7 separate regions of the Homo sapiens genome follow, and regions 1, 3, 4, 5, 6 and 7 are each linked to region 2. The links are contacts of gene promoters, found by promoter capture Hi-C in blood cells and fetal thymus (Javierre and others, 2016). All regions are on one chromosome and are shown on one strand. The core of a region is centred on a gene start or on the middle of the fragment in contact, and the rest is flanking DNA. Distances in the headings are between cores, read along the strand shown. Region 1 has its middle 97 kb from the start of ICE1. Region 2 holds the start of TENT4A (terminal nucleotidyltransferase 4A). Region 3 overlaps ICE1 (interactor of little elongation complex ELL subunit 1). Region 4 overlaps ICE1 (interactor of little elongation complex ELL subunit 1). Region 5 overlaps ICE1 (interactor of little elongation complex ELL subunit 1). Region 6 has its middle 80 kb from the start of ICE1. Region 7 overlaps LOC101929200 (a long non-coding RNA gene).

Region 1 (3,195 bases), core at 343-2,842, 1.2 Mb before region 2:
CGCCTGAACCACAGCAGCCAGGCGTTCCTCCAGAACCTCCTCCCACAGGAGCTTGCTACAAGTGCCCGAAATCTGACCACCAGGCCAAGGAATGCCTGAAGCCCAGGATTCCTCCTAAGCCATGTCCCATCTGTGCGGGACCCCGCTGGAAATCGGACTGTTCAACTCACCTGGCAGCCACTCCCAGAGCCCCTGGAACTCTGGCCCAAGGCTCTCTGACTGACTTCTTCTTGGCTTAGCGGCTGAAACTGATGCTGCCTGATCACTCGGAAGCACCGTAGACCATCACGGATGCCGAGCTTTAGGTAACTCTCACAGTGGAAGGTAAGTCCGTCCCCTTCTTAATCAATACGGAGGCTACCCACTCCACATTACCTTCTTTTCAAGGGCCTGTTTCCCTTGCCTCCATAACTGTTGTGGGTATTGACAGCCAGGCTTCTAAACCTCTTAAACTCCCCAACTCTGGTGCCAACTTAGACAATACTCTTTTATGCACTGTCTTTTAGTTATCCCCACCTGCCCAGTTCCCTTATTAGGCTGAGATATTTTAACCAAATTATCTGCTTCCCTGACTATTCCTGGACTATAGCCACATCTCATTGCTGCCCTTCTTCCCAATCCAAAGCCTCCTTTGCATCCTCCTCTTGTATTCCCCCACCTTAACCCACAAGTATAAGATACCTCTACTCCCTCCTTGGTGACCGATCATGCACCCCTTACCATCTCATTAAAACTGAATCGCCCTTATCCCGCTCAACGCCAATATCCCACCCCACAGCATGCTTTAAAAGGATTAAAGCCTGTTATCACTCGCCTGCTACAGCATGGGCTTCTAAAACCTATAAACTCTCCTTACCATTCCCCCATTTTACCTGTCCTAAAACCAGACAAGGCTTACAAGTTAGTTCAGCATCTGCGCCTTATCAACCAAATTGTTTTGCCTATCTACCCCATGGTGCCAAACCCATATACTCTCCTATCCTCAATACCTCCCTCTACTACCCGTTATTCTGTTCTAGATCTCAAACATGCTTTATTTACTATTCCTTTGCACCCTTCATCCCAGCCTCTCTTTGCTTTCACTTAGACTGACCCTGACACCCATTAGACTCAGCAAATTACTTGGGCTGTACTGCCGCAAGGCTTCAGAGACAGTCCCCATTACTTCAGTCAAGCCCAAATTTCAACCTCATCTGTTACCTATCTCAGCATAATTCTCATAAAAACACAGGTGCTCTCCCTGCTGATCGTGTCCTATTAATCTCCCAAACCTCAATTCCTCACAAAACAACAACTCCTTTCCTTCCTAGGCATGGTTAGTGCAGTCAGAATTCTTACACAAGAGCCAGGACCACACCGTGTAGCCTTTCTGTCCAAACAACTTGACCTTACTGTTTTAGCCTAGCCCTCATGTCTGTGTGCAGTGGCTGCCGCTGCTTTAATACTGTTAGAGGCCCTAAAAATCACAAACTATGCTCAACTCACTCTCTACATTTCTCATAACTTCCAAAATCTATTTTCTTCCTCATACCTGATGCATATACTTTCTGCTCCCCGGCTCCTTCAGCTGTACTCACTCTTTAAGTCCCACAATTAGCATTGTTCCTGGGCCGGACTTCAATCCAGCCTCCCACATTATTCCTGATACCACACCTGACCCCCATGACTGTATCTCTCTGATCCACCTGATATTCACCCCATTTCCCCATATTTCCTTCTTTCCTCTTCCTCACCCTGGTCACGCTTCATTTATTGATGGCAGTTCCACCAGGCCTAATCACCACACACCGGCAAAGGCAGGTTATGCTATAGTACAAGCCACTAGCCCGCCTCTCAGAACCTCTCATTTCCTTTCCATCGTGGAAATCTATCCTCAAGGAAATAACTTCTCAGTGTTCCATCTGCTATTCTACTACTACTCAGGGATTATTCAGGCCCCCTCCCTTCCCTACACATCAAGCTCGAGGATTTGCCCTCACCCAGGACTGGCAAATTAGCTTTACTCAACATGCCCTGAGTCAGATAACTAAAATACCTCTTAGTCTAGGTAGACACTTTCACTGGATAGATACAGGCCTTTCCTACAGGGTCTGAGAAGGCCACCGCAGTCATTTCTTTCCTTCTGTCAGACATAATTCCTCAGTTTAGCCTTCCCACCTCTATACAGTCTGATAACAGACCAGCCTTTATTAGTCAAATCAGCCAAGCAGTTTTTCAGGCTCTTAGTATTCAGTGAAACCTTTATATCCCTTACGGTCCTCCGCCTTCAGGAAAAGTAGAACGGACTAAAGGTCTTTTAAAAACACACCTCCCCAAGCTCAGCCACCAACTTAAAAAGGACTGGACAATACTTTTACCACTTTCCCTTCTCAGAAGTCAGACCTGTCCTCAGAATGCTACAGGGTACAGCCCATTTAAGCTCCTGTGTAGACGCTCCTTTTTATTAGGCCCCAGTCTCATTCTAGACACCAGACCAACTTAGACTGTGCCCCAAAAAACTTGTCATCCCTCCTATCTTTTGTCTAGTCATACTCCTAATCACCATTCTCAACTACTCATACATGCCCTGCTCTTGTTTACACTGCTGGTTTACACTGTTTCTCCAAGCCATCACAGCTGATATCTACCTTTTATACCTGTTTTTCTCCTTCTCTTATTCCATTTCATTTCTCAATTCATCCAAAACCATATCCAGGCCATCACCAATCATTCTATACGACAAATGTTTCTTCTAACAGTCCCACAATATCTCCCCTTACCACAAGACCTCCCTTCAGCTTAATCTCTCCCACTCTAGGTTCCCACACTGCCCCTAATCCTGCTTGAAGCAGCCCTGAGAAACATCGCCCATTCTCTCTCCATACCACCCCCCAAAAATTTTCGCCGCCCCAACACTTCAACACTATTTTGTTTTATTTTTCTTATTAATATAAGAAGGCAGGAATGTCAGGCCTCTGAGCCCAAGCCAAGCCATCGCATCCCCTGTGACTTGCAGGTACATGCCCAGATGGCCTGAAGTAACTGAAGAATCACAAAAGAAGTGAATATGCCCTGCCCCAGCTTAACTGATGACATTCCACCACAAAAGAAGTGTAAATGGCCAGTCCTTGCCTTAAATGATGATATTACCTTGTGAAAGTCCTTTTCCTGACTCATCCTGGCTCAAAAAGCTCCCCCACTGAGCACCTTGCGACC
Region 2 (3,161 bases), core at 659-3,158:
CCCCCTTATTACTGAGAACATGCGGTGTTTGGTTTTCTGTTCCTGTGTTAGTTTGCTGAGGATAGTGGCTTCCACCTCCATTCATGTCCCCACAAAGGTCATGATCTCATTCCTTTTTACGGCTGCATAGTATTCTAAGAGTGGCATGAGATGATTTTTAAAATAGTAACATCTTTTTTGTTTTTTAAAAAGGATCACACGAGCAGCTGTGCAGAATGTGGGAAACCAGCTAGAAGGCACTGCTTTAAAATGGACGGGTGGCGGGGAAAGAGGGGTGGAGGGAGGAGGAGGGGTAGCAGTTGGGTTCTGGTTGTTTCGGGCAGTGGAGCCAAGAGGATGTGTTCATTGTGGACAGAGAGAGGAGCCAGGCATGACCAAGGATTTTGGACTGAGCCATTGGAAGCAAACAGCTCCAGAATAACGGCCGTTTGACTTGTGTGTGATTTTCTGTAGTTTACTGAATGCACGTTCTAATCCTTGGTCATGATTTCCACGTGTACAATATGAAGGTATTTGAAAACGTCTGAAACATTCATTTTCATTACTAACCACCACCACTTGCCCCAAAGCCTTTGTATGCAACACACGGACCTTTCCTGTTGGGGCGATGTTTGAAGGGTCAAGTGCTTAGTAATGTCTACTCATCTGTGCTGGAGACGAGGGGGTAGCATTTACAACACGCCTGTACGAAGGCCAGGTCCCGTTCTACTTAAAAGGCTTGGAGCCCGGGCGCCACTGGGCTAAGGCAGCTTCAGGGCCCTGGCCCGGGAGTGCATTTGCGGGGACTCCGCCTGAAGACAGGGCGGCAGCCGCGGGGCCTCACGTCGCCCAGGCTCGCGGGGCACCGCGATGATCAACGACACTGGCGTTTGCTTTGGACCTCACAGGATGTGTGGTTGGCGCTGTATTCCAAACAGTGCCACTGTCAACCCGGCTTCCATCGCGCTCGGGACACCGGGATGGCAAACGGCAGGCTGTGGATGGCGGGCGGTTTCCCACTGACTCCTGCCCGCTCGGTGCAGCTGGAAAAACCGAAGCCGGGGGCCGGACGCGCCGCCCACCAGCCGTTCCTCGGCTAGCACTGCCCATTTTGCCCAGGGAATTAACTTGGAAGTTTTCACTTCACTTTTCGCATAGAAAATCATTTTAAAAAGCAAACCAAACGCCTGTAAGCAGACCCGCTAGGGAGCAGGACTCTGCCGCGTGTCCTTCCCGGCTCCGGAGCGGCGGAGCCAGCCACCCGGCACGGCACGCTGGCCGCTCACCCCGCGAGGTGCAGGGAGCACGTGGGCCGACGCGCGGACCCCAGAGAGCGCAGCGTGACCTGCTGCACGGACCCTCGGATGAGAGACCTGGGGCGGGATCTGCGACCGGGGCCCGCCCTTACGTCAGGAGGGAGGGCCGGCCGGCGGGGGAAGCGCCTGCGGTGGCGTCCGCTGCCCCCGCCCGGCTGCTCGGAAACTTCCACCGGCGGCGGTGACGGCCACGCTGCCCTGCGCACGCGCAGCGCGGCTCAGGCGGCAGCCCGGTGACACCGGCCCTAGCGCGCATGTCTGCACGCCGGGGTCTGCGCGCCGCGGCGGGCCGAGGGCGGCGTGCGGGCCTTCCAGCCGCTGCCTATTCCACCCAACGCCGGCCTAGTCAGTAATGGCTCAACGCCACCGCCTCTCCCTCCAGCCCCTCCCAGTCGCGTAGCTTCTGACGCCGTCCTCACCCCGCCCGCGGCCGACGGGGCCCCAACGCGCAGGCGCGGTAACCACGGCGGCAGTGTCTAGTGAGGATTTGAAATCGGTCGCGCGTGCGCACCGGCGACACGGCCCGGCGACCGAGGCCGCGCTTCCTCCTGCCGCCCCCGTCCCCGCCCCCTCCCCCGCCCCTCATTGGAGCGGACGCGGCGGCGGCCCCCTCCTTCCCCCGCGCTGTCGCCGCCGAGAGTGTCTTTTCACCGCCGCCGCCGCCGCCGCCGCAGGAGCGCCGAGCCAGCGGCGCGAGCGTGACTGAGGGCTAGCCGCACGGGCGGCGGCGCCTCCCGCGGGTCCTTCAGCCGCTCGGCGCCTGGGCCCGCCCCCTCGGCCCCGCCGCCCGCCCTTCTCCGATGGCCTCTCCCCGCGGCCCGAGTGGAACGCCGCCGCCGCCGCGGCCCCCGCGCCCGCCCCGCGCCGCGTGAAGCGGGAGCCCGGAGACCGCAGCCGCCCGCTGGGACGCGCCAAGCGCCGGAGCCGCCCGCCGCGGCCTGCCGGGGCCCATCACCGCCGCCGCCGCCCCACGCCGGAGCCCGACGGGAGCGCGGCTAGAGCAGGAGGCCGGGGCTCGGCCCGCCCGCCGCCGCCGCCGCCGCCGCCGCCACCGGCCCAGGCCCGTCCGTCCGTCCGTGCGCGCGCGGCCGGGCCTCGGGGCGCGGCGGGGGCGGGGCCGCGTCGGGGCGGGCGGGCGCGCGGGCCCCGCGGGGGCGGCGCGTGGATGGATCCGCGCGTGGCCTGGATCCAGCCCGAGCAGAAGGGGCCGGCCAATGCCCTGTGGATGCAGATCTGGGAGACCTCGCAGGGCGTGGGCCGCGGCGGCTCGGGCTTCGCGTCCTATTTCTGCCTCAACTCGCCGGCGCTGGACACGGCGGCCGCGGCGGGGGCGGCCGGGCGGGGCAGTGGCGGCCTGGGCCCCGCGCTGCCCGCCGCGTCGCCCCCGCCGCCCGGCCCCACCGCGCCCGCCGCGCTGCCCCCCGCGCTGCTGACGGCGCTGGGGCCCGCGGCCGAGGGCGCGCGGCGCTTGCACAAGTCGCCGTCGCTGTCGTCCTCGTCGTCGTCCTCCTCGTCCAACGCGGAGTCGGGCACCGAGAGCCCCGGCTGCTCGTCGTCGTCCTCCAGCAGCGCCTCGCTGGGCCGGCCGGGCGGCGGCCGCGGCGGCGCCTTCTTCAACTTCGCCGACGGCGCGCCCAGCGCCCCTGGCACAGCCAACGGGCACCCCGGGCCGCGCGGCCCCGCGCCCGCCGGCTCCCCGTCGCAGCACCAGTTCCACCCGGGTCGCCGGAAACGCGAGAACAAGGCCAGCACCTACGGCCTCAACTACCTGCTGTCCGGCAGCCGCGCGGCCGCTCTCAGCGGAGGGGGCGGCCCCGGGGCCCAGGCGCCGCGGCCCGGCACCCCGTGGAAGAGCCGCGCGTACAG
Region 3 (3,160 bases), core at 244-2,743, 1.2 Mb before region 2:
TTGTTCTAGTCCAGCCGTCAGTGCAGTTTCACAGTTGCCTTTAAGCCCAAAAGAAACTGTGGAGTCCCATGATAAAGCCATAGCTAATGCCCTGAAGAAAATTGCAGAGTTTTCTTTTGATCTGTTACCTGTCATTCGTAGTCATGTGTATGTGGGAAATATCTCCAAAAAGCCCGTAATGAGAGATCAAGAGAAGGAAGTTGTTTATGAATTTAGCACAACAAAAAAGGTATGTGGCTGCTCTTTTCTAAGTGCATTAGGGATTACATGTCCTCAAAGACAGATGCTGTTTACTGTCAGCAAAATGTGTAGATGACCATGAACAAAAGTTTTACTTCAAGGATGAGAGTTATCCATGTAAACATTACGACTATATTTCTAGCCAGCATTTTACAGATTTAAAATATGATAAGACACTGGAGATTTGGTCATTTCTATTCATTAAATTACTTAAATTTTTTTAAAGTATCTGTCAGGACTAAAATTACATATATCCACTTGATCCTGGCATGTTTAGAGGCTTAAAATTATTTTCTTCAAAGCTTCAAATTATCACATAATTTTTCTTTTCCTTGAGTTTTTGTTACAAATCAAACAGGAGCAAATGCTTAGTGTCAAGAGAGGGAAAAAAGGGATGGTTTAAATTTAAATATGTAGTTTATTAGGACTTTTATAGTTCTATATTTTCTAAATATCCACTGGTACCTTGCTTGGATGACTTCTAGTGCTAGACGGATCACACTTAGTGCTTATCTGCAGACACTTGGAGTCATTTTGGCATAAATATTTATTTTTTTAGATTGCTTCCTTGCAGAAAGCATAAGGAGCTCCGTAAGTCACTTTGAAAGGAAGTGAATGCATATATCAAATTATGTAATGCTCCTCTTAGGACAAAAAATGTTACTTAGTATTTTAAATTTAAACAGTATATAGAGTAAATTAGAGTTTAGAAAACAAGAATGAGAGTAGAATTACATACTGTATTTCATATACTCACACAGATTACATAAGGCAAAACCCAAGAAATTATGATTATTTGACTAGTGGTAGTGACAGTATGCAGCTAGGTCTTTTGAGACTTGCATTCTGGCATCTGCAGCATTTACCAGCCATAGGAAACAGACAGGCGTGGGGATTTCTTCAGTACCCCCGACCTCGATTCTCATGATTTACCATGCTAGGTAAGTTCTTACCAGTTACTATGCTCTACCTTCTGATGTAGCGCAAGTTTTATTTTTTCAATAGATACTTAAGTTTTGTAACTTTTAGATAATCTTTGGTAGGCTGAAGATAAGTATGAGTGTACATTGCCTTTTTAATTTTTTTTTCAATCCAGCATTTAGCAGAGTGCTTGCTTCACTCTATTCTCTCAGAACTAAAAATTCAGAAGATATCTATGGACCACAATTACATTCACGCCCTCTGCAGGGTGTATGTGGGTATTTGTCGGCAACTCGGAGACTTGGAAAGAGCTCGTTTGTTTTGCTACAGCCTACTTAAAGAAGGTATGCTTAGATTGTGACAATTTTGTATTGAAAATATACGATTGCCTTTTTCCCTTATACTGGAGTCTATATTTTCAGCTCTGATTACTGTGTGTCTTTTAAAATAATGTTATGTTTTGTCCATTGAATAGCTTTAGCTATACCCAGCTGCACCTGGTCTTTAGTAGGGCTTACTTATATCAGCACTATATTTCCACTTGTAAATAAATGAGTATCTCTCATTACTGTGTATTTGTTCTATGCTCTGTGCAGCTGCTTTAGAATTAGATATAGTTGCCTTAAAGTATGGGATACTTTAAAGTAAGTGACAAGCCAAACTGCTGTACCACTAGGTGGAAAGGGCAGCAACTTTAAGATGGAATTGTAAGCTGATGAAAAGAAGTAGATGAGAGAAAGCTGAAAGGAGACGGTGACATGAGGGTTGTCCTTTGATTCTCTTTTCTCTTTACTATTTCTTCCATCCCTACTAGTGGATCAGACTGGGAATCATTCTTTGCTGTATCAAATCATCAGTATTTTTAAATCATATGATATACAAATGAAACCTAGTATCGTATCAGTCTTATCTCAGTGGTAAACATTTACCATCTTTGACTACCATGTTTATGGGGCTTATAAATCAGGATAATTGAGTATATCCATCACTTTTACTGTTGTGAACGAAGCTGTGAAGTGTTTCATTTGCCCACTTCATTTCTTTGTTTACTCTCTCAGTCATTCATTCAACAAATCATTATGGAGTGAATGTTGGGATTTCTGTGGTGATTAAAATCAGATGGAGGTACACTTGTCCAGTGGGACTGACAGGCCATAGTCATATCACAAAAACACACATGAAGTTCAGCAGTTGGTGGGTGGTGGGACGGAACGGGTGTGGGCTCGGCCAGGACCACGATGGATTTCTTCTTCTTCCTCAACCACAGCAAGCCCATTCTTAGCTCAAGCTTTTGTGCTGACAGCTTTCTTGCTCTGTTTCCCTCAACTCTTGTGTTTCACTCCATTAATTTCACATACCTTCCTAGTCATCCTGGATCCCTTATTTTTCTTTATTTGCCTTCCTGGCACTTACCACTTCTTAAAGATTAAATATTTTGTTTGCTGTCTCTCTGCTCCTCTAGCTTGTATACTCTGTAAGGAGAGAATTTATTTGTCTTGTTTCTACTCTGAAGTGTCACCAGATAAACATAGGATTCAAAAATTAACAGATGAAGTTTAGTGCAGTGAGTTTATGCTTTGAGCTATCTATTCTTAGATGTGTCAGTGATAGATAAAGTAGAACAAAGAAAACTAAAAAGATGTGATTGTACAGCAAACAGGATAAAAATCTTTACTTTGGAAGGCTCTTTGACAGTTTCTTATGAAATTAAAACATTCATTTATCCTATGGCTCAGAAATTCCACTCAGGCACTTACGCAGCAGAAACACAGAGTTAGATCATGACATCATTACATAAACTAGCACGCGGATGTAACATCTTGACTCATAGGAGCCCATAACTGGAAACAAATGTCCATCAGCAGGTGAATGGAAAACATTTTGATATATCAAGCAGTTAAATACTACTTGGCTATACAAAGGAATAGACTACCAATGCATGCAACAACACGGATGAATGTCAAAACCAACATGCTGAGTGGGGAAGCCAGACAGAAGA
Region 4 (3,015 bases), core at 166-2,665, 1.2 Mb before region 2:
TGTCTTTATCTTCTAATTAGTGTTTATTAGAAGGGTCTGCCTGTAGACTTACTTTCTGTGCAGGCCTCAGCTCTGCTGGGGCTCCCTTGACAGTGCTGGGGATTGCATTGTCATGGACGTTGAGATTAGCTCCTCATTTCTTATTTGTATTCTAATACGGCTGGATGGCCCTGGAGTGTCCTCACATACCTTCTGTGGGGAGCTCTTCCTCCATCATGGCCAATCTGTCATCTCTGTCAGGTCATCGTATATTGAGTCTTTTTCCCCAAATCATCTACTAGACTCATGATTTCCTCTTATTTTACTCCTTAGCTCCATTAATTTAAATCACTTATAAAACTGAATTTCATTAAGTGCTTTTAATTGAAAGGGAGCCCTTATAACATGATGATATATTTCCTGGGAACGCATGCACATCCCATGATTGAGTAATACCATAGCTGTGCTAGATGTGCATCCCTTTCTCTGCTGTTAGTCATACAGTTAATATCCGTGGTAGATTGTTCCAGAGGACAGATCCAGTGGTATGCTGGTAGCAGTTTAATCTGATTGCAAAGAGATATTTGAAAGTGGTCAGTGACCTGAAATTTCTGATTTCTGAAGTAAATTACTTTTCAGTTTCCTAGGCTCCCTAGAAATTATTCAGATATTTACAATATCATCTTACATTGGGAGTTATCCTGATATTCTTTGATCAGTAATTATGTACTGAGCATCTGCTGTGTATCTCAATATTCAGGCTGCACGTACCTAGCACTAAGCTAGTTCCTGTAGAGGATACAAAGTAATGCAAATTACTTAAGCGTCCCATGCCTCAGCTTCTCCACATTTAAAATAGAGATGAAACTCATATGCTGGATCCACATATAGACCTGTGGGACACTTGTAGTATTGAGAGAGAATGTGAACACAGAACGCTGAGCATACAATATGATACTGTTGTAAAAGCACATCCAAGATATGTTCGCAATTCTCCTACTTAGGAGTCAAAAGAAGATGAGGATTTGCCTGGATGGAGGGAACAGGATTCCACTTTGAAGCAAGTTCTCATCCATAGGAGAGCTCCTGGAGTAAGGGAAGGCTGCGAGTGTAGGGGAATGGGGGGAATGATGCCATCCTGCTTGCTTTAGCCTTTGGGGAATTTGGTTGCCCTGTGATCTCCATCCTTGGATCTTTGGTTCTCATACCTGTTAGTTATTATTGAGAACCCTCAAAGAACTTTTGTTACTCCAGGTTACATCTATCTGTATTTACTTTGTTAGTAATTAAAAACTCAGAAATTGTTTATTTAGTTATTCATTTAAAATGAACAGTAATGAACCCATAAATGACGTTTTTAATGAAAGATAACTATATTTCCAAAACAAACAAAAAATAATGAGAATCGCATTGCCTTGTTGCAGACCTTTGTACTGTCTGGTTTGATATCAGATGGCTGATTTTTCATTATCTGTTCTGCATTCATTCTCGTGTGTTTTTCATATCCGTAAGACTGAATATATGAAGAAAACCCATTCTCATACAAATACACAGTTAATGGAGGGCAGAATCTTTTACTAGCCTTTTCAAATACGGATATTCTTTTTTGATGCTACAATAAAACTCAACAAGTAGTAATTTCTTAAAGGGTACTTGAAGTGTGAAATCTGAAATGCTGTCAGTGAGCTTTTTATACCTTGTTACACTAAAATCCATTGAGCTAGCTTAAATGTTGAAGGGATCCTTTTGCCCACTTATGATTTTGTAACCTGCATTATTCACTTGGAAAATAATTGATTGACATAGATCTTCGAAATGCCAACAATACCCAAAAATCACATTTAATATCACCAATCTCATCACAGAAAAGTCTTAAATATTGTAAAGCTGTCAAGCTCAGGATAGCTGATGAAAATTGTTCCAAACTTTTAATTTTGCTTAAAAGCTCAGATGTTATTGACCACGAGGATAAAGTTCATTTAAGTTACAGGTTCACTTTGTTTATTGTTGAAAAAAATCTGCGTTGTTCCAGTTAGCCATAGTTTGTCAGTTCTTTCAATCAAAGGTGGTGTCCTATGAGAAAAAAGCGCCTAATTTCACTCACAAGACAAACAATTGGATAAGTGCATTTCTTCACAACAACCAGTGTACTCAGTGTATGGGGGAGTGCTTCCTGTGCCGTCTACAGCATGTTACAGAGTTCTGTGCTTAGGGGTCCAGGTTTAGTGAGAGTAATTGTGACTAAGTAAAATTGGCTTTTTGAGTGTGAGCACCTGGCAGTGGAGAATAACTCCCATTTAGCGAGGTGCCACTGTCTTGACTTGCACTCACAGTCCGGTAGTTTGATCTGCTGTGGCTTTTGCACCATCAGACCACATGTCAGCACTGGGAGGAAGGCACTTAACTTCTTAGCATTGTTGTGAAGTAGTTTGACTTAGAGGACACTAAGGTTTCTGTAGACTACACTTGAGAATTACTGCTCTGTGGTATAATAGCAGTTGCCAAAGTGTCAGACCAAAAATACATATTTTGGTGGGACCATAGTCTTATCTTTGATCTGTTAACTTAACAGAAGTCAGGCGTTTCACATTGGCCCTACTGAAACCATTCTTTCTTCTAAATTCTATTTATTCCATTGTAACTTGGAAAGCAACACATTGTATATCATCTGGTATAGGTGATTGCAAGACGAAATGATGAGGCATTTTGATCACCTCTTGTAAGAGAAGTGGACCTTTAAATTCTTAGGAAAAGTTAATCAACATTTAACTGGACTGTTTACATTTTGGTTTGTTTCCCCTAGGTCGTTTAGGCCAATTGGGTTTGAAAGAAGGATTTCCATCTGCTGTGAAAAATATTAGTTCGGTTATTGGTATGTTTATACAGCATGCTCACGATGAAGGTAAAACTTACATCTATTAAAATTACTTTTAAGTAACTTGTGTTTCTCATAGTTAAACCTTTTTTGGGGTCCTTGCTGTGTGCTGTGCTCTGTGCTTTGCTTGCTGCCTCATAGATTAGGGAATATTTGCAAAA
Region 5 (3,132 bases), core at 465-2,964, 1.3 Mb before region 2:
ACTTTCCTTTTTTTGTATTTTCATTTTCCTTTTAAAAATGGAAATATGAATTTGAATTTCTGCTCTATCTCACAGGTTTTTTGTGGGGATGCATTTAAAATGTTTAATTAGTAAATAATGGTATTTCATCTCACTAATGTGTTATTTTTTTCTCCAAGTGGAAATGATTAAAAACATTTAAATTGTGTGCAGGTATATGGTGTCTCTTTTAGAAGTCACCTTTACCTTTTTTTCTTTAATTTTTTTTTAAAATTCAGAGTACAAGTTTATGTTTTCCTTGGTGTAAGGCTTTAACAGTTCCCACCTTTCAGCTGCCTGGGCATTGATTGCTCACCTACCACTATGACTAGATATGATTCCATGTGCTTTTGACTAGATTCTTTGTCTCTTGTGTATGGAAAGTGAGACTTTAAGTAATAGTTACTGCTGAGAGAAATAGAAGACGTGACAACGTTTGCTTTCCCATTCAGTAGTCAGCGGTTGAATGGAATTATCTTCGTTTTTGGACTGACAGATTTGTTTTACAATTCAGCTATTCCCAAGCCTTACTATTCAAAGCAGAACCCTTCTGTCTTCTTTCTGTAGTTGCTCTCTCTCCCTATATTCTGTTGTATTTTTTTCAAATAACTTATTACTATCTCAAGTAAAATTGTTTTATGTTTTGTTTTTATCTACCCTCTTAATCAGGGCAGGGATATGTCTGTTGTATATTTTACTTTTCCCAAATACATAAAGTTTCTGGGAATCTGCTGGTTATTTAGCTGTGGACCTTGATGGGTTTATCCTTACTTCTTAAGTGTATTGTTAACACTAATACTTGACTTATGGAAAAGATTTGCAAAGTAAGCACCAGAGTATTAGGTTGACTTCACTTTACAAAAAAAGGCCATCTGAGTGCTACTTTGCCTTTCTTTTCTTTAAAATTCCAACAAAAATTTTCGACCGGAAAAAAAAAAAACAAAAACAGCAGCAACTCCTGGATAGTTACAAAGATTACCATCAGTAGAAGAAATGAGGAAGATGCACAGCAGATAGTATCAATTGGTGATGAAACCCGCAATTGCAGAGAAAATAGCAGCTCTCACAAAGTAAGTTTTCATTGCAGAAGCTGCGAGTTTCCCCAAATCAGAGATGGCAGGGAGTGGGAGAAGGAGCAGGACATTAGCATTTTGCCAGGTAATTGATTAAAGGGTGAAAGGAATGCCAAGCTTCTGGTTTCAAAAACTGTTTCTGGCCTTTGCTCATAAACTGTGGCCCCAGTTTCATTTTCTAAAGTTTTAGCTATGACAATGGAGCTCCTCAGAGTGGGCGTGGATATCAGAAAATTGGGTAATTATGGCCACTTTAAGGGCTAGCCCCTCCTCTTCCCAGAAAACAAGATGTTTATATACTCCATGTAAACCCTCACAACTGCGTCCACTTTCCACTGCTTCCCCTGCAAGGCAGGGTCCCACAGATTTATGAAATGAGAATCTACATTTACTGCTGAAGGAATAGCACTAAAAATGTAGGCTGAAGAAATACACTTTGTCTGCCAAAGATGTTCTGCCTAAACTCTCATCTAAAACTTAGAGAAAAAGCAGTGAGAAAAAAGAGAAAAGCAACAGACGCAAGAAGACTGAGAGAAACAGTCTTTAATTATGAATGAGAAGGAAATGCTGAAAACTGATTGCATTTCCTTTAGAGAAAGTCTAAGAACATGTCCATAGGCTGCTGCTATGAAATTGAACCAGATAGGGATCTTGAAAATTAAAAATCCAATTGTATAAATAAACCCAGTAGAAAGGTGGAAATACTGGATGAACAAATAAAAGATCAATTAAGTTGATCCTAGAGACTGAATCCTAGGCGGTTGAGAGCATCATACAAAGGGACAAACAAATTAAAGATATTAGAGAAAATAACAAGATTTGGAGGATAGAGCCAGATGTCTCAATATGCGTCTCCTAGGACTTCTCAGAGGGGAGAACAGAAACAGAAGGAGAGAAGGTGATCAAGACATGACAGAAGGGAACTTTCCTGAGCAGAGAACACATGGAATATTCATATTCATAGGGGCCACCAAGTGTTGAGCGTGATTTTTGTGTACAGTCTCCGTCTCTGACACCTTCGTAGGAAATATACCTAAAATCAAATGAAACAGACTGAATATTAGAGGGATGGATAAAAATATTCCAAGCAATGCTGACATTAAAGCAGTCATGTAAGGTAAAAAATAATAAAAGCTTAGAAATGAATTTACATTATTGAAATGTTGATTAAAAGTATAGTTTGCCATGAAGATACTGCTAGTATGTACCTAAGAGTGTGAAACGATGTCAAGCAATACTCTTGGAAATCTAGGGGGACTGGCCAAATCTATTTTCGTCGTGAGAGACTTCACAATGTTTTTTAGAAAGAGAGAGCAAAAGCAGACAAGGGATGGAATTGGAATCACAGTTCCAAATGGATAATTTATATACAACTGTTTGTAAACCACACACCTGGAGTTTGTTAAAATACTTTTCAAATGTATAAAAGTTGACTAGTAAGTGAACAATAAAAAATACCTACAATTTAATATGAGCTTTTAATAAAAATCCCCCTCCCTCTGCAAAAACAAAACCTGCAAAACTTACCTAATAACTAAACTCACATAAGACACACAAAAAACCTCTCTTTGGTAACAGAGAAAATAAGAATTGAAATACTAAACTGTTTTGAAAGTAAACAGTAGGGCAATATTTATTAAAATCTTTAAGATATAGCCAATTCCTTCACTATTCAAAGGAATATGTTAAGGCCTTACGTGATACATTGTCACTTTAGAAATAAATACGGAGAATGAAGTGTTTAACTGAAAGAAAAAATTGATGAAAATGCAAACTTAATGAAATAGGAAACAAAGCAATTGATTTAGGACAATTAAATCTGATAGCTGGTTCTTTGTAATGCTAGTGAAACCAACAACTCTTTGGTAAACTTTGATTAAACAAACAAACAGAAGGAAAAACAGCACCAGGATTGAGAAACAGGTAAAACTACAGTCAAGAAATTTCATAATTCACAAGTTCATATTCAGATGTGAAAATGTAAGTAGAATGGTCCATTTTCAAGGAAAACATGCTCAAATTGACTCAGAACAATTGCTAC
Region 6 (3,379 bases), core at 633-3,132, 1.2 Mb before region 2:
CTAAAATATATATATATTTAACTTTTATATTTTGAGATGAAGTCTCACTCTGTCACCCAGGCTGGAGTGCAGTGGTGCGATCTCAGCTCACTGCAATCTCTGCTTCCCGGGTTCAAGCGATTCCCCTGCCTCAGTCTCCTGAGTAGCTGGGACTACAGGTGCCTGCCACCATGCCTAGCTAATTTTTGTATTTTTCAGTAGAGACGGGGTTTCACCACATTGGCCAGGCTGGTCTCGAACTCCAGACCTTGTGATCTGCCCACCTCGGCCTCCCAAAGTGCTGGGATTACAGGCATGTACTAAAATATTTTTAATGCACAGTTGAGCTAGCAGCAAATAAAGGAATCTCTTCAAAGTGAGAAAGGACAAGAAAGCTTAACTCCCCAGGAGAAAGGAGCACTGAAACCATTTGCCCTAGATTTGAACAGGGTGGGATGTAGACAGTCTCGGGTGGGATGCAGATGGAAGGTTACAGGCCACATAGAAGGGCAATGGAGACAAAGTCTGGGGCCAAAATTAGGGGATGTCATATCAGCGACAACCCCACCCCCAAAAGCCAAGTCTCACATAGGGAGATATCTTGGGGGTAAGCCAAAAAAAAAAAAAAGCCCCCAAAGAGGAAGAAGATAGGGATGCTAACCTACTGTTAACCTAACTGTGGGTGGATCAGAGAAAAAAGCACACACAAACAGCAATATCTCCCAGAAGAATTTCTACCCAAAGGCCTGCACTCATGAATTTGGGACAGGAATATATACTGCTAGTGGGCTCAATTCCCCCAAAATGTGTTTTCAGTGATCCCAGGTTAGAAGTACCATCGAGGACCTGCAAAGGCAGTTGCAAATCTTCACTACAGGGAAGTTATTTTGATTCCAGTCCTTAAAAGATCCCCACACATGAAGTTCCAAGGATCATGAATTCATACTCCTACCCACACAATCCTAAGCAGATGAGAAATAAAAGAACAAATAAAACATCATGAGAGAATTTCCAGGAACAACAAACTGTGCTTAGAGGCAGACTTACAAAATTTGTGTATATTTTATTTACCACATTTAGAATGTCTAAAATATGTGTGTTTAATATGTTTAAGAAATAAGAGAGGAATGCAAAAGTATGACAAAAGAATAAGAGATTACAAAAATTTACCAAATTTGAACAAGAGCAAAATGGAGCTTTTAACAACAAGACCACACGAACATAAATATTTCAAAGTATAAAGCCAGGAAACAAGGATAAAAGCAGATTAGTTACAAATGATGAGATAATTTATGTATGATTTGTCTGAAAATACCCAGAAAACAGCACAGGAAGACACAGTGATAGACAATAGAAAGTAAGAGGATGGAAGATTTCTCTTATGTTTAGAATGTAGAAAATAACAAGAAACTATTATTTTAATGAAATAACCCAAGCAAGATGTAAGAAGCAACAAAATCATAGTCTTTCTAATCAGAGAGCTGATGATTAAAAAAAAAGAACCCATACATGATTAAATTCTAGAAAATAGCAGAGAAGACAGATATATTTTATCTCTGTCTTCATTAGAACATGCTTGAAAATCAGATATTATTATCATTATGTCTGCTTCTAAAGCTGAGGCACAGGTAGGCTAAGTGCCCTTAACTTCAATGAAAATACAGACTTGTAAAAAGCCCTGAGTAGATTCTCTAAATCTGCCTGCTGATTCCAATGTCCTCATGAAGCATCTAATGGCCTAAGATAAAATCTCTTCCTTTTCTGGGAAGGGAAGAGATTCTCATTCTTCTTGTAAACACAAGAGAAAAAGAAATCTGCCATAGATGGGGATAAAGATGAATTAGGATGAACTTTAGTAAAGGTGCAATGGCATATATGGCTGACAGATTAGAATTCTGAGGCTCCTCAATAATAGAATATGCTTCCCCCACAGGCTTTCCTCAAATGCTCAGGAACAGTATGTGTGATGGTTAATGTTAGGTGTCAGTTTGACTGGATTGAAGGATGCCTAGATGGCTGGTAAAGTATTGTATCTGGGTGTGTCTGTGAGGGTGTGTCTTGAGTCAGTGGACTGGGAGAGGAAGACCCTCCCTCCATGTAGGTGGGCACCATCCCATTGGCTGCCAGCATGGCTGGAACCAAGCAGGAGGAGGAAGGTGGGATAGGCTGGCTTGCTGGATGTTCTGGTTTCCTTCTTTTTCCTGTGCTGGATGCTTCCTTCTGCTCCTCCTGCCCTTGGACATCAGACTCCAGGTTCTTCAGCCTTTGAACTCTGGGACTTGCACTAGTGGCTTGGCAACGACTCTCAGACCCTCATGCACAGACTGAAGGCTGCACTGTTGGCTTTCCTGGTTTTGAGGCTTTAGGACTTGGACTGAGCCACTACCAGCTTCTCTCTTCCCCAGCTTGCAGACGGCCTGTTGTGGGACTTTGCCTTGTGATCGTGTGAGCCAATTCTCCCTATAAAAACAAACAAACAAACAAAAAAAAAAAAAAACAAAAGAAAAAACCAAACCAAAACAAAAAAACACTCCCCCTTTTATATGTACATATATCCTGTTAGTTCCATCCATCTGGAGAATCCTGACTAATACAGTATACCAGAGCCTGCGGTGGAGACCAGATAGAGACCTGGAGATTCCCCTGAAGTCCAAGGCACCTTCTCCCAGACCAAGGCAACACCTACTGAAGGAGGAGAGAAGCAGAGCGTGAGATCTGTGATAAATCAACCCAAGGCACTCACCATTTTTAGTTCCCAAGAGCCGGGCATAAACAAGAGACCTGAGGGAATCCTCCTCTCTTAAAAAACAAAAGCAGTGGACCAACTATGAAGAGGAAAATTTCTGCCTTGAACTGTATCTGAAAGATGTTATTTGGGAAAGAAAAGAAAGAGAAGAATGGGCAAAGAAGTAATCACATGGTTGAAGTCTGTGGATGCAACTGTTAATGAAGATGGTTAAACTTGAAATAAACAATTTTAAGAATTATTTGGTCTGCAGATATTTTACTTTAAATAAATGTCTATTGTAATGGTAAAAAAAACAAAAACAAAAACAAAACAAAACAAAAACAAAACAAAACCAAAAAAACCTCAGGCTTTCAACTGACAATAGCTACGGGTGGGGCAGAAAAGATGAAAGAAACTCCTCCAGGGCATTCCAGACAGAGCAGGAGCTCTATGTGGATCCAAAAGCCTGGGCTGGACTGGAGAGCAAAGAAGATTCTCCAACAATGTACAAACCATCATTTGAGTTTTAAATCAGAGAGAGATCTCTCATGATTTGAAAAACTGGTGATTTGGGTGACATGAAAAACTTTGGGGAATTTCGCTAGTGCTCAGAAACCCACACACTGCAGAATGGAAAATCCTGAGCCCACTTTCAAAACATTTGAACCTAGT
Region 7 (3,011 bases), core at 512-3,011, 1.3 Mb before region 2:
AGGCCCCTCTCCTACCTCTTATCTTCTGGTTTCCTTGTGTATATCTGTTGGCACAGCTGAACAGAACTCTGGCAGGAGAGGTGGCACGTGGCTCCCCAGTCCCTACGTCACAAGGCAGAGTATAAAAGGGAAGGTGTGGGGCCGAGAGACAGTAACTTAACCACCAGCTCAGGGTCCTGGGATTCATCCCTCTTCCAGTCAGCAGGAAGTGACAAAGAGCACAGGAAGGCCCTAGGGGCCAGGCCCCTTTTGCTGATGTTTGGCTGGTAGAACTTAATCACATGTCAGGTGCAGGGAGGCTGGGGAATAACTAGACAGAATAGAAACAAGTTTTGGTGAGTGGCTGCCACTGGTGCTGTGTGGATACAGTTCAAAGTGAGGACTTTCCAGCTGTGGACATCCAGCTACAGTTCTTTGAATGGGGGATGGAAGAGCAAAGTTTTATTTCTGGCTGCTCACTTTGCCTCAGCCTCGCTTTCCTCGCAGCTCCCACTGAAATGCCCACCGTATCCAGTATGCAGAACTCCTGCTCATCCCAGTGCGGGTGAGCATGCGGCTCAGTCACCTCCAACCCATCTCCTGGAGCTGTCCCACGGTTCCCTTGGAACCACTCTAGGGCATGTAGCATCTGACTCTGAGTGCTTCACTTCGTGGGGGCACTGATTAAAACAAAGCTCTGGAATATAGCATCATCGAGAGGCAACTGTTGATTTAATTTATTAACATATACATCCACTGAAATGGCTGCTAGATGTGGTCTAGAAACCAAGGAGACCCCCCACTGGCCTCAGGTGAAGGGGAAACATGTCCCTCCCTTTCCTATCCCTCCTCAGAGTTAGGTGGGACATGCCCTTGCCAGCTGCTCTACAGAGAATCCCCTCCTCAACACCTGTCACCTCTGAGCACCTGCCGCCTTCTTCCTCCGATCCCGGAAGCTACAAGAAGCTTCTCGTGTGACCAACTCTTACAGCCGCCAGGTGTTCACAAACCCGCAAGGCAGAGTGGGCTTGTCCTCCTTTACAGAGGGCGACTGCAATGTGAGAGTTGTGAAAGTCCTTTCAAATGTTGCTTTTTTTTTTTTTACTTTTCTCAATCAGCTTTCTCAGGTTGAAGAAAATTTTGCTTAATAATCATATCAGTTTTGCTTTCTATTTCAAACTAATTGTTTCAAAACTAAATTTTATTTGTCCGGTTTCTAAGTAACATCAGTGTTTCAGGAAGAAGCAACATGTTTACTCTCTGGCTTCAAATCACTTTGAGGGTAAGAGCTGAGGCTGTGAGCAAATTGCTGATGTCTGAGGACAAGTCGAAACCCCACCACTATAACCCTGAGTGTTGAGAAAAACTGGAGCAAAGACAGCTTAGGACTAAGCCTGGTGGAACGTGTGTGGGCGGATAGCAAAGTGGTTCCCACAAGACGCCTTCCACCCTAGGATGCCCCAGAGGATGGCCTTTCCCCTCAGCAAGAAGGTTCGGTTAAGTCCTAATACCGTCGGAAATTCTATTTATGTGGAAAACACACAGGGAAAGACAGACATCTTGTGGGCATATGGTAGCATTACATCACAGGTCTGGAAATTAATACCTAATAATCAGGGGGTCATATCATTGAATAACACACTGTTAGTCACAAACAATTCCATCAAACATCTCTCCAATTAAAAGAAACAAATGAACATATAGTTCATTTTTCTTACAGTTAAATGCATCAATTAAAAGCACAGCCTTGAACTTCCAAAGAATAGACAGCTTTCCATTTTGAGTTCTCCTTGGTTTCTAGACCATATCTATTAGCCATTTCAGTGGAAGTATATGTTAATAAACTAAATCAACAGTTACCTCTCAATGATGCTAATTCCAGAGCTTTCGTTTTAAGCAGACACCAAGTATCTGAGAGGTAATGAGCGTGTGGGGTGAGAAGTGAGACTTTTTGAGTTGGATCCTCTGAACAGCTGGCTGGATTCGACAGGCACAGGGAATCCCAAGACCAGAGACTGGAATGCAGACATTCCTCCGGGTCTTAGGGCTTCTCTGGCAGAAAAACAACAAGTTTATCTTGGAAGTTTGACAGGAAAAATGCTTTTAAAGAAAAAGCAAACCATCTTTTTCCTATGAGTCAGTTGAAGATATATTTATCTCCTTTCCAAAATGGATACCACCATCAATAAATTATTAATAACTATTTGTCTAGTGAATCCTATAGAGTGGGTCCCATCCTTGTCACTTTTTACTTAAATTACCGTTGGTCCTCTGTAAGGAAACACCAGCACAAATAGGTCATTTGCGTAAGAATTTAAAGACAGATGTGTGGTTCCAAAGCCATAGTTCACCACTTGCAGTATACACACTTGCTTGTTTGTTTCCATCGTGATGAAAAAACAGGTGTGGCCCATCATGCAGGAAAGAGAAAAAATGTAATTCTGACCATTCCTCAATTAGTGGCCTACTACATTTTCATTATGACCAATAATCACACCTGTTTTTTTACACCCTGCATGTTAAGAATGACTTTCACATTTTGAAGTTTCTTAAATAAACAGAAGGTGACAAATAGGTGGCACAGACCTGTGTGACCTACAAAGCTTAAATATTTACCATGTGGCTCTTCAGAGTCTGCCTATCCCTGCATTACGTAAACAAGACTCGTTTTCATTAGATGTCTTGAGAACTGGCTTTGAGAAAGGTAGGAGAAAATACACTTTTATTAACATTTTTGAAGGGAAATATTTGTTGTTTCTTACCTTCAATTATTTGCAGCACATTTGATTCTTTCTGACTTTCATTTAACATCTACTATGCAGCACTTTGCAGCATTTAAAGGGAAGACTCATCTGTAAGACATAAAAACCACCATCATCCAACTCAAAATGTGATGTTACTAAAAATTACTCCGTGCTAAGGGGATTTTTTGCCCCTTAGGTGGCAGATCCTTGGGGTTGTGGAGGTAAACCCCGGAGCCTGGAAGAGCAGGTAGGATTTCTACACCTAGAGCTAGAAGGAAGCGTGTTCCA

Evidence for each region. The method cuts DNA at HindIII sites, captures the fragments that hold promoters and counts their contacts. A CHiCAGO score of 5 or more calls a contact.
Region 1: a contact is called between a fragment that was not itself captured here and the fragment with the promoter of TENT4A in region 2, in 8 of 17 cell types (naive B cells, naive CD8 T cells, total CD8 T cells and 5 more). The highest score is 10.8, in naive B cells.
Region 3: a fragment that was not itself captured here is called in contact with the fragment with the promoter of TENT4A in region 2 in 6 of 17 cell types (naive CD8 T cells, total CD4 T cells, naive B cells and 3 more); the score reaches 15.2 in naive CD8 T cells.
Region 4: a contact is called between a fragment that was not itself captured here and the fragment with the promoter of TENT4A in region 2, in 10 of 17 cell types (naive CD8 T cells, naive B cells, total CD4 T cells and 7 more). The highest score is 21.6, in naive CD8 T cells.
Region 5: a contact is called between a fragment that was not itself captured here and the fragment with the promoter of TENT4A in region 2, in 4 of 17 cell types (naive CD8 T cells, total CD8 T cells, M2 macrophages and 1 more). The highest score is 8.2, in naive CD8 T cells.
Region 6: a contact is called between a fragment that was not itself captured here and the fragment with the promoter of TENT4A in region 2, in 7 of 17 cell types (naive CD8 T cells, total CD8 T cells, naive CD4 T cells and 4 more). The highest score is 16.4, in naive CD8 T cells.
Region 7: a contact is called between a fragment that was not itself captured here and the fragment with the promoter of TENT4A in region 2, in 12 of 17 cell types (naive CD8 T cells, total CD4 T cells, total CD8 T cells and 9 more). The highest score is 26.6, in naive CD8 T cells.

The regions. Positions count from the first base shown.
Region 1 is chr5:5,517,769-5,520,963 of GRCh38, forward strand. No RefSeq gene overlaps it. Among named protein-coding and RNA genes, the nearest start is that of ICE1, 97 kb to the left of the region's middle. RefSeq lists enhancers at 2,522-3,168, 3,169-3,195. The HindIII fragment of the contact is 9,665 bases long and covers 1-3,195 here.
Region 2 is chr5:6,711,524-6,714,684 of GRCh38, forward strand. TENT4A (terminal nucleotidyltransferase 4A) reads left to right here and starts at 1,909. Exons shown (of 13, transcript NM_006999.6): 1 at 1,909-3,161. The coding sequence starts at 2,461. RefSeq lists an enhancer at 998-1,057 and silencers at 1,228-1,667, 1,778-2,147, 2,448-2,517, 2,888-3,161. The HindIII fragment of the contact is 9,360 bases long and covers 1-3,161 here.
Region 3 is chr5:5,464,998-5,468,157 of GRCh38, forward strand. It overlaps ICE1 (interactor of little elongation complex ELL subunit 1), which reads left to right. Exons shown (of 19, transcript NM_015325.3): 13 at 1-229; 14 at 1,337-1,505. Among named protein-coding and RNA genes, the nearest start is that of ICE1, 44 kb to the left of the region's middle. The HindIII fragment of the contact is 1,907 bases long and covers 541-2,447 here.
Region 4 is chr5:5,483,939-5,486,953 of GRCh38, forward strand. ICE1 (interactor of little elongation complex ELL subunit 1) reads left to right here. Exons shown (of 19, transcript NM_015325.3): 18 at 2,783-2,881. Among named protein-coding and RNA genes, the nearest start is that of ICE1, 63 kb to the left of the region's middle. The HindIII fragment of the contact is 3,984 bases long and covers 1-3,015 here.
Region 5 is chr5:5,448,516-5,451,647 of GRCh38, forward strand. The region is part of intron 10 of ICE1 (interactor of little elongation complex ELL subunit 1); the gene reads left to right. Among named protein-coding and RNA genes, the nearest start is that of ICE1, 27 kb to the left of the region's middle. The HindIII fragment of the contact is 1,017 bases long and covers 1,207-2,223 here.
Region 6 is chr5:5,500,590-5,503,968 of GRCh38, forward strand. No RefSeq gene overlaps it. Among named protein-coding and RNA genes, the nearest start is that of ICE1, 80 kb to the left of the region's middle. The HindIII fragment of the contact is 3,021 bases long and covers 373-3,379 here.
Region 7 is chr5:5,418,010-5,421,020 of GRCh38, forward strand. It overlaps LOC101929200 (a long non-coding RNA gene), which reads right to left. Exons shown (of 6, transcript XR_001742583.3): 2 at 2,742-2,831. Among named protein-coding and RNA genes, the nearest start is that of ICE1, 3.2 kb to the right of the region's middle. RefSeq lists an enhancer at 1,274-1,343. The HindIII fragment of the contact is 1,637 bases long and covers 944-2,580 here.